Regions from separate parts of the Homo sapiens genome. Here regions 2, 3, 4 and 5 are each linked to region 1. The links are contacts of gene promoters, found by promoter capture Hi-C in blood cells and fetal thymus (Javierre and others, 2016). All regions are on one chromosome and are shown on one strand. Each heading gives the region's core, a stretch centred on a gene start or on the middle of the fragment in contact. The rest is flanking DNA. Distances are from core to core; before and after follow the strand shown.

Region 1 (2,879 bases), core at 274-2,773:
GACAATCATGACAGCAAAGTCCAATGCTACAGTTGGCACCTGGTTGCAACTTACAATTTGATTGGCAACACCGATCTTTCTGACACTCCTCTGTGGAACCACAGTCACATTCCTCATTGTCCTCCACAATTTTGTTTCCACATCTCTTAAGCACATAACCTAGTCCTGGGATATTATTTAGACATGTTGCTCCCGAAGAGATATGTTTAAAAAAAGAGATATAACTGCAATTGCTAAACCCAGTGCGTCCTGAGCCCATGATGCAATTAAGCCTACCCCTACATTGGCAGTATTGTTCATCATGTGACATTCCTACAGCATGACCCAGCTCATGAGCAGACCAGGTAGCAGGGGCAAGGATATTTGTATCTAGTAAAGTACTCACTGATCCAGCATATTCTAGAGAACACACTTTTCCAAACGACCATGCAAGAGCATCATTATATTTTCTTTGAAGATATAAATGTGCCCAATCTGATGACAGGCGAGCATTTAATACACTTTTTTTATATATTACAAATCTGCCTAAAACTTCAGCTAACTCTGGATATCCAACGCGTATTTTGTTAAAATCTGTCCATACTTCAAGAGCCTTTAAGTGTATCCTCATACGAACATCTTGAAAGTAGGTGTCCATAATCCCAGTCAAAAGAATGGCATCATGTATGACTTGAGAAAGATTGTTGTTCACAAACCTATACCTACTTTGATCAAAGAGTAGGATCAATTCCAAGTACTTTGGGTGTTTATAGGATCCAGGAAAGTCCCTTAGCCTCGCCTTATTCTCATAAGGGGCCATCTGCCATTCTATTTCATCATCACTTAAGCCACAAACCTGATTCCCAAACTGCTCTTTCTTCAGGAGATAGACGACATGTTCAAAACTGGGAGAGGCCTTGAGGGGCTCAATTTGGTAATGTTTGGCATCAATGTTAAATACACCTCGGAGACCCCCCATGCATGTGCTTATAGTAGCTTTAGAGTCCAGAGACTCTTTCACGGAGCCCATGTAGTTGCAGTCCTTTGGTATGTAAGGATGATCCTCCAGCAGTTCCCCATGTTCTGTGAAGGAGAAAACGCGCAGATGTCGGGGCAACAGAAGTCTCTTGGGCCACAAATGGAGGACGTGCTTCTTGCCTTTTAACTGCAGTAGGTAGGACACGGGACTGACCACACCCTGCACCTCTCCCCGGAAGCTCAGCTTCTCAGGAATGGTGACTTCATACGAGTCAAACTCCCCTTCAGGGTGAAAAATTACATCTTCGCCAAGAGACTTAAGGAGCATTGTCGGAACTAGTAGAAGGAGCAAACGGCATTGGGAGAGGAAGATCTGCACTGACCTCATGGTCTGTTCCCTACTCAGCCTCAGTTTGCTATTCAGTCCCTGCAACTCTGGCCTCGCGAGTCAGATTTCTGGGGGCCGCCGCTAGAGGCGCCTGAGCTCAAAACCCGGCTCCCCTGGCAGGGTTTCCGGGGGAGCCCGTAGCCTCCCAGGGCTCGGTCTAGCTGGCGTCCGCAATGCGCGCGTGACCTGTCCAACGCATCCAGTTCGTTTTCCGGGCCGTACCGTTGGGCGCAGGTGGAAGAAAGGAGGGAAACGTGGGCGAGAATAAAAGAGAAAAGAGGGGCTGTTGGCACGTGGGTTGGAGAGAGGGTAGAGAACACCATCGGAAATGGAGAAGGAATAGAGAAATAGGAAGAACAAAGGAGAACGTGTTAAAGGCTCACTGTATCTTTGCCTTTACTCTGTGTCTTTACACCTTAGGACACAGGTTGGAATCCGATGTTTTATGGGCCACTGTCCTAACTTCATTGTTGGACATTTCCCAGTTTTCCACTAGGGTTGCTTGTGGCAAAAGAAAGGAGCATCAGAACCAGCAAGAGTGGAAACAGCCTGAAAGTATCAGCGTAGACTCCACACCCCCAGCCCCACTCTGGGCAGTTCCTCTGTCTTCGGCTGCGGCTTCTTTTTAGAGAAGGCCCTGAACCTTAGTTGTGGGCCCAGGCAACAGAAAGGTCCTGAGCTCATTTTGCCTGGGAGTGCTTTCTGCTGTTTGTCTTTGGGGTGCCAGGGGTCAGTGTAATTTTTGTGTGTCCATGTGCAATGGTGGGAAGAACCTAGAAAAAGTGCCTGTTATAAGAGCAAACCCAAGTGCTTTCTGAGAAAGGTAGATAGCTGGTTATGTTCCTAGTCGAGCGATGAGGCTGACTCCACAAAGGAAGAAGCCTCTGGCTCAGAAAATGGAAGGGTTTATCGTCCGTAAAAGGGCAAATCGGAAGGTCATGAGGTGATTCTGAGGGATTCTGATAAGAGAGGAATATTTTCAGTTTTGTTCCTGGGAGATTCCATCTGGCTGAATTACAAGGAAAGGTTAAAAAGGAACAGGCTTGAGTCAGGGAGACTAGTTAAAAGCTCTTGTACCAAGCAATGTTGTCTGTTGGCAGAAAGCATGGCCTTAGGGCTGATAATAAGCAGTACTTATGGAAGACTGGCTCGTTTCATGCTACACACCCCGCTATGCTCTGCATAAATCAGCCCATTAAATCTTCACCATGACCCTAGGTTATAGGTACTACTATTATCACCCATACTTTGCACATGAGGACATGAAAACCGTACCATGGTTCAGAAGGTGGCGTCAGCTGAAGCAATCCCTGTGAACATTTAGGCAACTCTACCCGGAGCCTGTGTTCTTTACTAGTCAACTCTGTTGTCTCTTTAGGGAAGGACAAAAGTTGACAGCTCCAAGAGATTTAAAACCACTTAGACTCTGCTGGACTTAATGCTTGCATGGATTCTCCCAGAATGAAAGAGGCAAAAATGAAAAAGAATGTTGATGTTTCTGGCTTAGGTGTATGTGTGTGTCATGGTTCTAACC
Region 2 (2,879 bases), core at 208-2,707, 110 kb before region 1:
CCACACCACCCACGAACCCTTCACAGGAGCGGGCTGCTCTCTCTAGTGCTGGACTACTGCTGCTGTCACTCTTGATTCTGATTATCGGAGTCTGGTCAGGTACATTCACTTGATGGCTTTGTTCACTGACACAGGAGGGAGACATCTTGTCAAGGTGTTTCCATGCTTGGGATCTAAGCCCATCGCCCCTTCAGGTCCCCCTCTCACGCTCAGCCAGTATTCCCTGAAGCCCAGCCATTGGGCTGGGAGAGCTTGTTCCCAGTAGTTTGCAGAATCAGCCATGGGCTGAGCTGACGGCACCATACCCTCCCATTCTACAGAGCGCAGAGTGCTTCTCCTGCTCTGGAGCTGCTTAGGCAGATGATCCATCTCTCCCTGTGACAACTTTGTTTACTGTGACTCTCAGGAAATTTTAATCAAGCCTCAAAACTTTCTGTTAAATCCTTATCCCGGGACAATGACTGCCTGGGACAATACCTAGTTGCCATTGATTGACAGCAGCCATTCAAATGTGTTATTTCTTGAAAGGGCAGACTCACTACATGGGTCTAGGGACACATGTCACTGTGCTCCTAATTTAATACCTGTGTTGACACACAATTTCATGTCATCTGTTCCACAATCATAAAAAAGTCATTCCCCCCATGCCCCCACCCTCCATTTTTTAGGTGGGAAAACAGCCTCAAAGAGGTTAGTGAGCTGTTTAAAGTCACAGAGCTATTAGTTGCCAGGCCTGGGATTGTAACCCGAGTGCATATGACAACAAAAATCCATGCTTTTTCCTTGTCCTCTGACATAAAGAAAGAGAATATAAAGACTTGCCTCATGAACCTAAACACCTGAAACTGGAGCCTGTGCACCCCTTGTGCTCTGTAGAAATATGTTGGGTATTGCGGGATCTGGCCAGCAGCCCGCAATGCAACGGGGCTTTCTCTTTGTTCCCAGGCAGATCGGCAGGTTGAGAAATAATAGACACACACAAGATAGTGAAAGCTGGGTCCAGGGGGGTCACCGCCTTCTGGTCCTGTGGTGCCAACAATACACTGGATATACCAGCATTTATTATTAAGTTTAGTGAGGGCGGGGGTAGGTTAGTGAGGGATTTAGGGTTATTTGATTATGAGGTGAGATGGTCACATGGGGATGAAGTAATTCTTTAACATAACATTTGTATGTAGAAGTACAGTACATTTGTATGCAGAAGTACAGTATACAGAGATAAGAATTTACAACATAGTGTGTGCATCAGTAATTTCTAACAGAGCCTTAAAACAGAAACACAGTCTTTCCATAACCTATGATTAGCAAGATATTAGTCAGCAGTAACAATTGCCACAAAAGCTGGTTACAAACAACCCATGGAAACAGGATGTGAAGCTAGACAACTGGTTAGACCAGAAATTCTCAGAAGGGAGTATGCCTTAACCCTAAAGAGGCCTAGAAGAGCCATGGCAAGATGAGGGCGTTTATAGCCCTGTCTTATCCATATGGACAGCTGCCTCCCATGCGTTCGTTTATAGGCTCTCCACAAGGGTTGCATTCCATTCCCAGAGCTATGAACATCTGCTTTCCTGGGATAGGAATCTTGGTGATGTGAAACTTTCCTGACTGCACGTCCATTCATAGGCTCTCTGCAGGGGGAAGCACATCAGGGGTCTCCCTACAGTTGGGCAGTTTGCTTTGCTACTGGTTCTCTGGAAAAATATTTATTTTTTTAAAAAAATTTTGTGAGTATATAGTTAGGTGTATATATTTACGGGGTATGTGAGATATTTTGGTACAGGCATACAATGCATAATAATTACATCATGCAAAATTGGATATCTACCCCCCTCAAGCATTTATCCTTTGTGTTACAAACAATCCAATTACATTATTTTAGTTATTTTTAAATGTGCAATTAAATCATAATCAACTGTAGTCCCCCTGTTATGCTATCAAATACTAGGTATTATTTATTCTTTCTAACTGAAAAAAAATCTTAAAATGTATTTTCTTTCTTTTCTTTTTTTCTTTTTTTTTTTTAGAGACTACAGACAAGGTCTTACCTGTCACCCAAGCTGGTGCAGCATTGTGATCATAGCTCACTGCAGCCTCCAGCTCCTGGGCTCTAGTGAGCGTCCCACCTGAGCCTCCCAAAATGCTGGGATTGCATGTGCACACCACCACGCCCAGCCTGTATTTTTTTTAAATCACTTTGTTGAGGTATTATTGATATTAAAAAGCTGTAGATATTTAATGCATACAACTTAATGTGTTTGGAGAAAAGTGTACACCTGTGAAACCATTATCACATCAACTCAATAAACTTAGCCTTCACCTCCAAAAGTTTCCACCTGCCCCCTTTGTTTTATTGAAAGTTTATTTTCATTTGGATAATAATGTGTATTTAAAAACAGAGTTTTCTAGATAACGTGCTTGATTACTTTCTGAGAAATGCATTGGGATTTTCATGCTGCATTTTGCATTTATGTTAAAGTTCATTGACATCGAGTTGTACAGTAACTGAGATAATGGGAGAGAACATAAGCTGACTTCCTCTGGAACAGGGTGTGGAGTAGAGGCCAAGTGTTGCAGGGCTCTCAAAGAACAAAGGCCTTGCACCACTTCATCTTTAAATAAAGAAAAGTAAAGTAATATTTCAGCCACAAACTGACTGTCAAACCCCAAAAGAACCTGAACCACAGCAAGGCATTCCAGACTTGTTTCGTAAGCCAAGTTTAGTTGCAACAAACCCACATTCTCCATGAAATCAAACTTATCTGAGTTTGAAGTTTATTAGATATGTAGTTTATTTCTATTTAGTATGTCATTTTCTTGGTTTTATAAGAGCTACAAGCATAACGGACATATGCTTACTTTAAGGTTTGTATGAATTT
Region 3 (2,879 bases), core at 153-2,652, 91 kb after region 1:
AAGTGAAGTTCTAGGATCAAGACACCATGAAGAAATTCTAGGAGAAGTCCCAATTCTAGGAAAACCTGGTGGGAAAGTATTAAAAGGGACAGTTTGGGAATTAAAAGCAGAAATGTTTGGCCTCCCCAGTAAGTCCTGTGATTGAGTTTTTAAATGCTTTTCATCTTTTTCTATTCATAGTCTACAGCTCTAAAGAGTATTGTAAATAATTAGATGCTACAGATAAGGAAAAGTAATTCAGAGACACTAAAGAATACCAGGTAGTAATGGCTGCACTTCAACATTAAGATTCTTTGTAGGAGATAGCCCACTACTGGTACTGTAATTTTTTCTTATAATACTAACTTCCTGTTGGGTTTCCACATTAAATTAATTTCTCTCAAAAAGGCCCAGCTCTTAGTCCCTTAATCAGTTCTTAATTGTCTCTACTTTCAGTAGATAAACAGACATAAAGAGAAATTAGAACCAAATGTCTGCGTAAATCACTCAACCTGCCTAAGACTACATGAGAAACTTCCAAGAGGCTGTAAAATTAAGCAAGACTACCCTTCTAATGTTAGAGGCAGAAAAAACTATTTTTGTTCGTGTACAAAAAGGGATAGAAGAAAAAAACAAATGTAGGATGCGTATCATAAAAATAATGTCATTAAGAGTACCTGCCTAACACTTTGCCTAGTTATAGAACATGACATTAAGATGGGACAGATCTCTGTCCGTGAACAAATAGGCTCTGAACTCTGGTAGCCTGTACAATTTATTTTAGCATTTCAGGAAATTTTTCCTCTTTAATATTTATTAAGCATCTACTATGTTCCAGGTAATGTCCTGCTTTTCCCAGATAATAAGCTTACAGTAGTGCTCTTCTCTCATATCTGCCACAGCATCTAGCATGGTGCTGGGTTCAGAGTTGCTGCCCAATAATACCTGTGAAAATATGTCTTTGAGTGAACATAGGAAAATGTATGAGGTTAGTACAATAAGCAATGATCTAGCATGGAGATCCTGCTCAGTTCACATACTGGTTCCAGAGCAGGCCTAAGATATTTGTTACTGATATTTTAAAAAAACAGTCTGCCTCTGGTTACCAATCCATATCCCATTCTGGTGGATTCTCCACACTGTACATACCTGTCCATTGTGGGGGACAGCGGCAGTTGTAAGTGTTGACCCCATCCACACAAACCCCTCCATTCTGACACCTGTGGTTAGGGCAGTCATCAATATTCCTCTCACAGGTGCTCCCTTCAAAACCTGGTAAATGAAGAACAAATGAAAATGATGAAATCTCATACAGAAGAAACGACCTGCTCTGTTCCCACAGAACATGGTTATTAGAATAGACCCGCTTCATGACTTCAGTTCAACAGCTGCTCACCCAGGACTCACCATATGAAAAATCCCCAATTCTCTGTCTTCTCTGGCCTCAAGCATAGCTAGACAGTGAAAGTGACTCATTGTGCCAATGGCATGCCTTCATAGTTACCTCACAAGTATTTCAAAATGTTTTCATGAAATAAAATCCCAGGGATGATAAATGTCTACTTGGGACAGAGATATTCAAGGGTTCTAAAAAAACAGGGTATTGGATTTTCCCCAGCTCCATACCAGACTAATGGGAAGAACAGATAAAATATTACCTAATTAAATTTAAGTTCCTTTTATTTTTTTTCTTTGAATGATTGCTAGGCGGCCTCCAAGCCAGGTGGGGAAGGGAGTGGGGGAGGATATAGGAAAAATATTGAACTTAAAGTATGAAGATATGGATCAAGTCCCAATCTCACCACCTGCAAGCTATTCGTACATGGTAAGCTAAAGTTCTGCATCAACTTCCTCACCTGTAAAAAATGAGGCTAATTCCACTTGCCTATCCTGTCTTTCTAATTATAAGTGCCACATCATGAGTAAAGTGCTATACAAATGTTAAAAGGTATCTGAAAATTGGGTGGCATTATTACTAACTAAGCTTACCAGCACTTCAAATTCATCAGGCTCTTCTCTAAACTTACAGCATTGCTTCCTTCCTCTTGACTTTTTCTTTTATGAAAAATGAAACTAGTACACCAAACTTCACTCTAACTGCCCACAGTGTGGTCCTTTGTAGTTTATATGTTGGGCCTCTTACTTTCTCTTTCCTTGCTACCAAACTCCTGAGCTAATTAAATAGAAGACTACCAGCTTCTATTCTAAACATTCTCCTATTTGAAATATAGTATGATTACATATTTGGCTTCCTCGAAATATCCCTTAAGGTTCCTCTCTCTCACTCAAAATACTTACTGGGACTTACATTAGGCACTGGTGATACAGCAGTGAGTCCCTGCTTTTGTGGCATTTACAGCCTTGTGAGTGGGACACACATCAATCACACTTTGCTTTATTCCTTACCATAAGTTACTGTGGCATTCTACATCTGCTCTGCTACACTGGAACATGGCTGATTTCTCTAAATACAATGGCAGTCATATAAATAAGTATAAACTGAGTGACCAAAAACATTAGCCAAAAATCACTCCATGGAAGACAGAAATCACTGAAGGCTTTATTGAAGGAAATTATATTTCTCCAAGTATTTGGTACTCAGTCCATTCAAGCAGATGAATCACTGAAGAAGCCTGAAAAAGACTATGAAAATTTACTCAAATTTCAAAAATGTATCATATTACTCATATTTCATATTATTCATACAGAAATATGAGTCTTACAAATAGACCAATGAGCCAGAAAATGATGAGCCATTGAAGCCCACCCCTACAGAATCTATGGGATCTACTAGGTCCTTGAGTAAGAACTAGGGTCTTTGCCCCTAGTCTGGTGCTCTTGATGAAGATATTCTTTGGAAAATTTAAAGACATAGTTTTAGATTGTTGGGGAAAATGGGG
Region 4 (2,879 bases), core at 128-2,627, 66 kb before region 1:
CTGAAAGATGCTACCAGTAGTTTTTCCAGGGCAGAGATGGGTTCTTTATTTTTCTGTCTAATCTAGCCCATATGCTTAGCTGAGAAGTTTTCTTCATATCACTTTAAATGATGATGTCCCTTGGTTTTCTAAACATTCTTTAGATAAGAATTTTATGAGCATTCTTTATTGCATTAGGATTAAAATTAATGAATCTTAAGGTTTTATTGCAAAGTCTTGCCTTGTTTCCTTTCTAAGATGATACAATTTATAACATGCAAGTTTGCTGACTGTCTCCTCCCTTTGTGTACATATAAAATGAGCAAACATGTGGCCATGAAACAGATGGTCATAGAATTGGTTCAGTGGTTGTGAGTGCAGCAACCCAAGAGTGTCTTATCTGAAATACCACCAGGAATGCCTGGACACAGTAGACAAAGGTTGTTCAACTGGACGCCTTAGGATACATGCTTCCAAAAACAAAGTAGCTGAAAAGAAACTAGAATAACAGGATATCAGAGCCAGAGGAGCATTTGGAGGTAAGTCAGTACCTCCTCCTTTTTGTCCTACAGGGGAGATAGTGGAACAGAAGCAGGGATGGGCCTGCCTTCTGTGCCCACAATTCACTGGGGATTGTTGTGGTGAAGAATTTCATTTATAATGAAGGAGAAATAAACCCCCATCACCTTAAATTCAGGCAGGTTTATTGAAAAGGTGAAGAGGCCTCTTGCAGAAGCAAAGCATAGCTGAGGCTTGCGGACTCTGGGAAAACGAGCAGCCGACAGTGACTAATGCTGCCTCTGACTCTGGGGCCGTGTGTTGTCTTGCTCCCTGTGAGCATCTCTTCTATTCTTTTGCATCTTCCCTCAGCCTAGCAGTCTCTGTTTACTCTTCAACACATAATTGAGCAAGGCTGTGCCAGCCCCAATGCCACCTGGCACTTTAGATCAAATTAAAAATGCATGAAATGAACTGGCCCTTTATAATACAGCTGTTGGAACAACAGCTGGAAATACAATATGTTGACTCCTGGTTTAGTGCTTTATGCTAAACTTCCTTTTCTGAAAAGAGCACAGACTTTGGGATATTAGAATACATTACGTTTCTGGGTTATTTGGAGTTTATGGTTTTCATGAAGCTTTGAAAGCTTTCATCCAGTATGTTTTAAATATTTTTCTATCGCCCTTATCCACTCCATTCCCTTCAGGGATTCCATTTAGTAGAGTGTTTAAAATTTTCCCACTGATGGGCTTTTTATTTCTTAAATTCATTTTTTCCTGTGTGTTTCATTTGTGTTCATTGCTATTGCTGTTTCCTTTAATTCATTAATCTTTTCCTCTGCAATGTTCAATCCAGTGCATTTTTTAAAATTTCAGACAGTAAAATGTAGTTTTCACTTATGGAATTTGATATTTTAAAAATATCTCCCACATCTTCATTTAATTAAAATTATAATAACTGCTCTAATGTTATTGCCTGCTATTTCTAACATGTGTGTCGTTTTCAACTGAATTATTTCATTCTTCATTATGTCTCCTGTTTTCCTGCCACTTTGCCTGTTTGATATACTGGGATTTGATGTCACACATTTGATGTCAATGCCCAAATGTGCCCAGTGGCACAACTCGGCCTCAGTGTCTATGCACACCCAAGCTTTTGCAGCAGGAGAGGCAGAGCAGAGGCAAATGTGCCACACATGGGGGTAGGGAGTCCCCCACTTGTGCTTGGGGCTTTCCTCTGCCTCATTGAAAAAATATGTGTTCCTTTTCTTTTCCATAAGACCTGCACTACTTCAGGCCCTGTTCCTCCAATGATCAGGACAGTCCTCTCTCTAGTCTCATCCCTCCAAAGGATGGACAATGGTTCAAAACAATTCAGGAGAGAAAGCATAGTCTTGTCAACAAATTGTGTTGCGAAAACTAGACATCCATAGGCAAAAATAGAAAAAAATTCACAGATGCTGGCGAGGTTGTGGAGAAAAAAGAATGCTTTTACACTGTTGGTGGGAGTGTAACTGTCAACCATTGTGGAAGACAGTGTAGTGATTCCTTTAAGACCTAGAGGCAGAAATACCATTTGACCCAGCAATCCCATTACTGGGTATATATCCAAAGGAATATAAATTATGCTGTTATAAAGATATATGCATGCATATGTTCACTGCGGCAAAGATATGGAATCAACCTAAATGCCCATTAATGATAGATTAGATAAAGAAAATGTGGAATATATACACATGGAATACTATGCAGCCATAAAAAGGAATAAGATCATGTCCTTTGCAGGGACATGGAGGGAGTTGGAAGCCATTATCCTCAGCAAACTAACACAGGAACAGAAAACAAAACCCTGCATATTCTCGCTTGTAAGTGGGAGCTGAATGATAAGAACACAAGGACAGATAGGGTTGGGGTGGAGACAACACACACTTGGCCCTGTCGGAGGGTGGGAAGTGGGAGGAGGGAGAGCATCAGGAAGAGTAACTAATGGATGCTGGGCTTGATACCTAGGTGATGAGATGATCTGTGCAGCAAACCACCATGGCACACATTTACCTATGTGGCAAACCTGCACATCCAGCACATGTACCCCTGAACTTAAAATAAAAGTGGAAGTAAAAAACAATAAACAAAGAAAAAAATCCACTTAAACATCCATACTTGCACTAAAACTAACTCAAAATTGATTATAGAACTAAATGTAAATTGAAACTCTAGTAAACTTACAGTAGAAAACAGAAATTTTTCATGATGTAGAGTTAGGCACGAAGTATTCTTAGTTATATCAACACAAACTATTAAAGAAAACATTGATATATTTAACTTCATAAAAATTAAAAATCCTTGGTCAGCACAAGACATTGTTAATAGAATAAAAACATATGCTACAAACTGGGAGAA
Region 5 (2,879 bases), core at 233-2,732, 68 kb after region 1:
CAAGATGGCTAAGGCCCCACCAGAGACAAGTGACTGAAGAAACATGTCACAATAAAGAGACTGAACTGTGAAAGAGAAAATACATTAAAGGAAGGGAAGAAGGGAAGAAGGAAGGTAGGTAGGAAGGAAGGAAGGAAGGAAGGAAGGAAGGACTGAATTTATTAATCTGGGTGGGGTGGAACTTAAAGAAAAAAAGATAATATAGCCACAAAAAAGAGGGTTTTCAATTTTAAATCATTAATTTTAATTTTTGAAGTGGTATGCCTCTATTTAACAAAACACACACAAACACACACACAAAATCATCAGATTGGCAGAGCTATTGTCTCTGACTTCTCCACTGGCTAGGGCCATTTGCCTTGAGACATTTATGTTTGTGGCTTTGGCTGTGCTTCTCAGAATCAGGACTGTTTTTTAGGTATCTGAGCATATGCCAACAGTCTGAAACATCTGTGTAAACAGATTTGAGAAACAGTGAAAACCCCATACCAAACATAAACAGAGTGGGCTTACCTGACGTGCCTGGCTGGCAGTTGCACTGGTAGCCATTGACCAGGTCAATGCAGCGACCATCGTTCAGGCAAGGGCTGCTGTAACATTCATCAATCTGGTCACTGCAGATGGCGCCCATGTACCCGGGATTGCAGATGCAGGTGTAGGAATCAATACCATCCTGACACTGACCATGGTGGCAAGGATCGGGGTCACAGTTGTCAATGTTCTCCTCACACAACACACCAGTGAAACCTTTGGAAAGAATTTTATCAAGGATTCTCAAAGACCAAGGCAGATATTCCACACCAGAACACAAGTGTAGCTACATCCATTTACTCTACACATTCGATGTGTGGTCAATTAATACTGCAGGTCTTGAGCAGTAGAAAACGACGATCTGCATTGATTTAGAAAGTATGCCTGGAGAGAGGTGCTTAAAATAAAGATTTCCAAATCAAATTTTAGAATTGAAATACCTTCGCAACTGATCAATAATTTCATTGCAGAGATGCTTTAACTGCACCTTCATTTCTTACTAGGCTTCAGGTATAACAGCTCAAAATATTTTTCCTTTATATATTTATCTTTGTATTTCTTTCTTCCCAAGTCCAATATACAGGTTAATGATTTCATGTATCTTATGTCCCCAATTCTGACTTTGGAGGTAAGAGAGCTTTATTTTACTTCTCTCAACTCCTCTGAGAGTAGTATGCATATATAGTAGTTTTAAATAAATACTGGTTGAATAAAATGAATGAACCTGTTATGAGAATTTAAAAGAAAAAGAGACAAGTAAGATTTCCTTTCTTCGAGGTGTAAATAGACAAACATTATATCTTTCCCTAAAAGACTCCAGGAGTCCTCCCCCCACTTTTAAACCTGAGCTAAAGGTTTTTAATCTCTTTGAAACTTATCCTCTACAAGAAGAATCTGGCCAGGGGAAGACAAAATCTGGATTCTCTGACAAGCATTAACTATTTGCAAAAAGAAAGAAAGTGGCTCATCTGAGTTGTCCTAAACTAAGTAGGTCTAATAATTAAAATATTAACTTTTTGTATTAATTTTCACAATTAAATTTGCTTTTCTGTGATCAGAAATAAATTATATGCATGATGCCTTTAATCTTTAAGACTCCATTCTCTAAAATTAATGTCTTGAATTACATAAATAACTTCTTTCTCAAGCAGTCAGATAATAAAGAAGTTCACTTCTAATAATTTCTAGCCTTTCTGTATAATATTTGCCTGTGTAAAAGGAAATGTGTAATAGGGAACATCTGGCTTACTGAAATCCAATCCCAAGTACAAAATGTGATTACAAACCCAGAAATGCAGAATATTTGTGCACAGATCGTTTTTGACTCTAGTTGCAGAAGTCAGCAAAGAGGACCCAAACTTTCCCAGTGAGAGCTCTCTCTCCTGTCATTTACACACTTGACTCTCAATCCTATTTTGGTGTCTTTTATGCAGAATACCCCTGCACTTGTACACATTCAGCCTTTAAATTTCTGGGCCTTCTTTCAGTCACTTGCTTCAAGAAACACAGAGCCAGGCCTCCTGCTGAGAAGCCCCAGTGAAAAATAGCTTTCAACTGGATTTCTTCTCTTTCCTAAATGAGTCAATCTAGCCAGCTGGAAACTTACTGCTGCCAAAATCTGTCCCAGAAAGACATGGATACCAAATGGAAATATCTGGGCCAGACCACTGTTGTGGTGGAGGAGGCAGGTGCTGCAGAAAAAGAGAGCAGCAAAAAATTTGTTAGAAACAGCTCTTCCTAAACACAGAGGAGCCTCTGGGAGTGGACTGGCCTGGCACAGCAGCTAGCAGAGGACAGGGACAATCACCCTATTTTGTTCAGATGGACCTACCAAGGAGATGAAAAGTGAGAAGAATCTTACCTGTGGCACACTGGCATTCATAGCCATTCGGGTGATCGATACACTTTGCCCCATTCAGACACGGAGTACTGGAACAGTCATCAATATCAATCTGGCAAACTGGCCCAGTGAAACCTCAAAAAGGGACAGTGGTAACATGAGTCAAAGGATTATCTTGTGTCTCCCTTTACCATGAGAATGATGTTAGGTTACTAGCAGGGCTTATACCAATGGGTCAATAAGCCTATGCTTTATTATTCTCCCCAACAGGTAACTGGAATAACCAGGTGACACTCAGGGAATCAGAGGCACTTGTGGTGTGTCTCTACCATTGCTTCTTCACAGACAGACTTCACTTCTAAATGAAGGATGTAGGAAGTGAAATTTATAGGTGGAACCTCAAACAAGTAACTGTAGCTTCAGAGGCAACAGAAACCTTCTCTCTGAAGATACAATGGGGTAAGATGCAATCTATGGAGGACAATTTGGCATATCTTCAAAAATAGCT

The links. The method cuts DNA at HindIII sites, captures the fragments that hold promoters and counts their contacts. A CHiCAGO score of 5 or more calls a contact.
Region 2: a contact is called between a fragment that was not itself captured here and the fragment with the promoter of ADAM30 in region 1, in 4 of 17 cell types (M0 macrophages, M2 macrophages, M1 macrophages and 1 more). The highest score is 11.8, in M0 macrophages.
Region 3: a contact is called between a fragment that was not itself captured here and the fragment with the promoter of ADAM30 in region 1, in 9 of 17 cell types (monocytes, M0 macrophages, erythroblasts and 6 more). The highest score is 12.9, in monocytes.
Region 4: a contact is called between a fragment that was not itself captured here and the fragment with the promoter of ADAM30 in region 1, in 3 of 17 cell types (M0 macrophages, M1 macrophages and M2 macrophages). The highest score is 6.8, in M0 macrophages.
Region 5: a fragment that was not itself captured here is called in contact with the fragment with the promoter of ADAM30 in region 1 in 8 of 17 cell types (erythroblasts, neutrophils, monocytes and 5 more); the score reaches 11.7 in erythroblasts.

The regions. Positions count from the first base shown.
Region 1 is chr1:119,894,992-119,897,870 of GRCh38, forward strand. ADAM30 (ADAM metallopeptidase domain 30) reads right to left here and starts at 1,524. Exons shown (of 1, transcript NM_021794.4): 1 at 1-1,524. The coding sequence starts at 1,345. The HindIII fragment of the contact is 9,342 bases long and covers 1-2,879 here.
Region 2 is chr1:119,785,333-119,788,211 of GRCh38, forward strand. No RefSeq gene overlaps it. Among named protein-coding and RNA genes, the nearest start is that of HMGCS2, 18 kb to the left of the region's middle. The HindIII fragment of the contact is 4,371 bases long and covers 1-2,879 here.
Region 3 is chr1:119,985,832-119,988,710 of GRCh38, forward strand. NOTCH2 (notch receptor 2) reads right to left here. Exons shown (of 34, transcript NM_024408.4): 5 at 1,129-1,251. Among named protein-coding and RNA genes, the nearest start is that of NOTCH2, 82 kb to the right of the region's middle. The HindIII fragment of the contact is 1,117 bases long and covers 845-1,961 here.
Region 4 is chr1:119,828,979-119,831,857 of GRCh38, forward strand. No RefSeq gene overlaps it. Among named protein-coding and RNA genes, the nearest start is that of REG4, 19 kb to the left of the region's middle. RefSeq lists a silencer at 2,294-2,494. The HindIII fragment of the contact is 506 bases long and covers 1,125-1,630 here.
Region 5 is chr1:119,963,061-119,965,939 of GRCh38, forward strand. NOTCH2 (notch receptor 2) reads right to left here. Exons shown (of 34, transcript NM_024408.4): 10 at 2,393-2,506; 11 at 514-747. Among named protein-coding and RNA genes, the nearest start is that of ADAM30, 68 kb to the left of the region's middle. The HindIII fragment of the contact is 8,628 bases long and covers 1-2,879 here.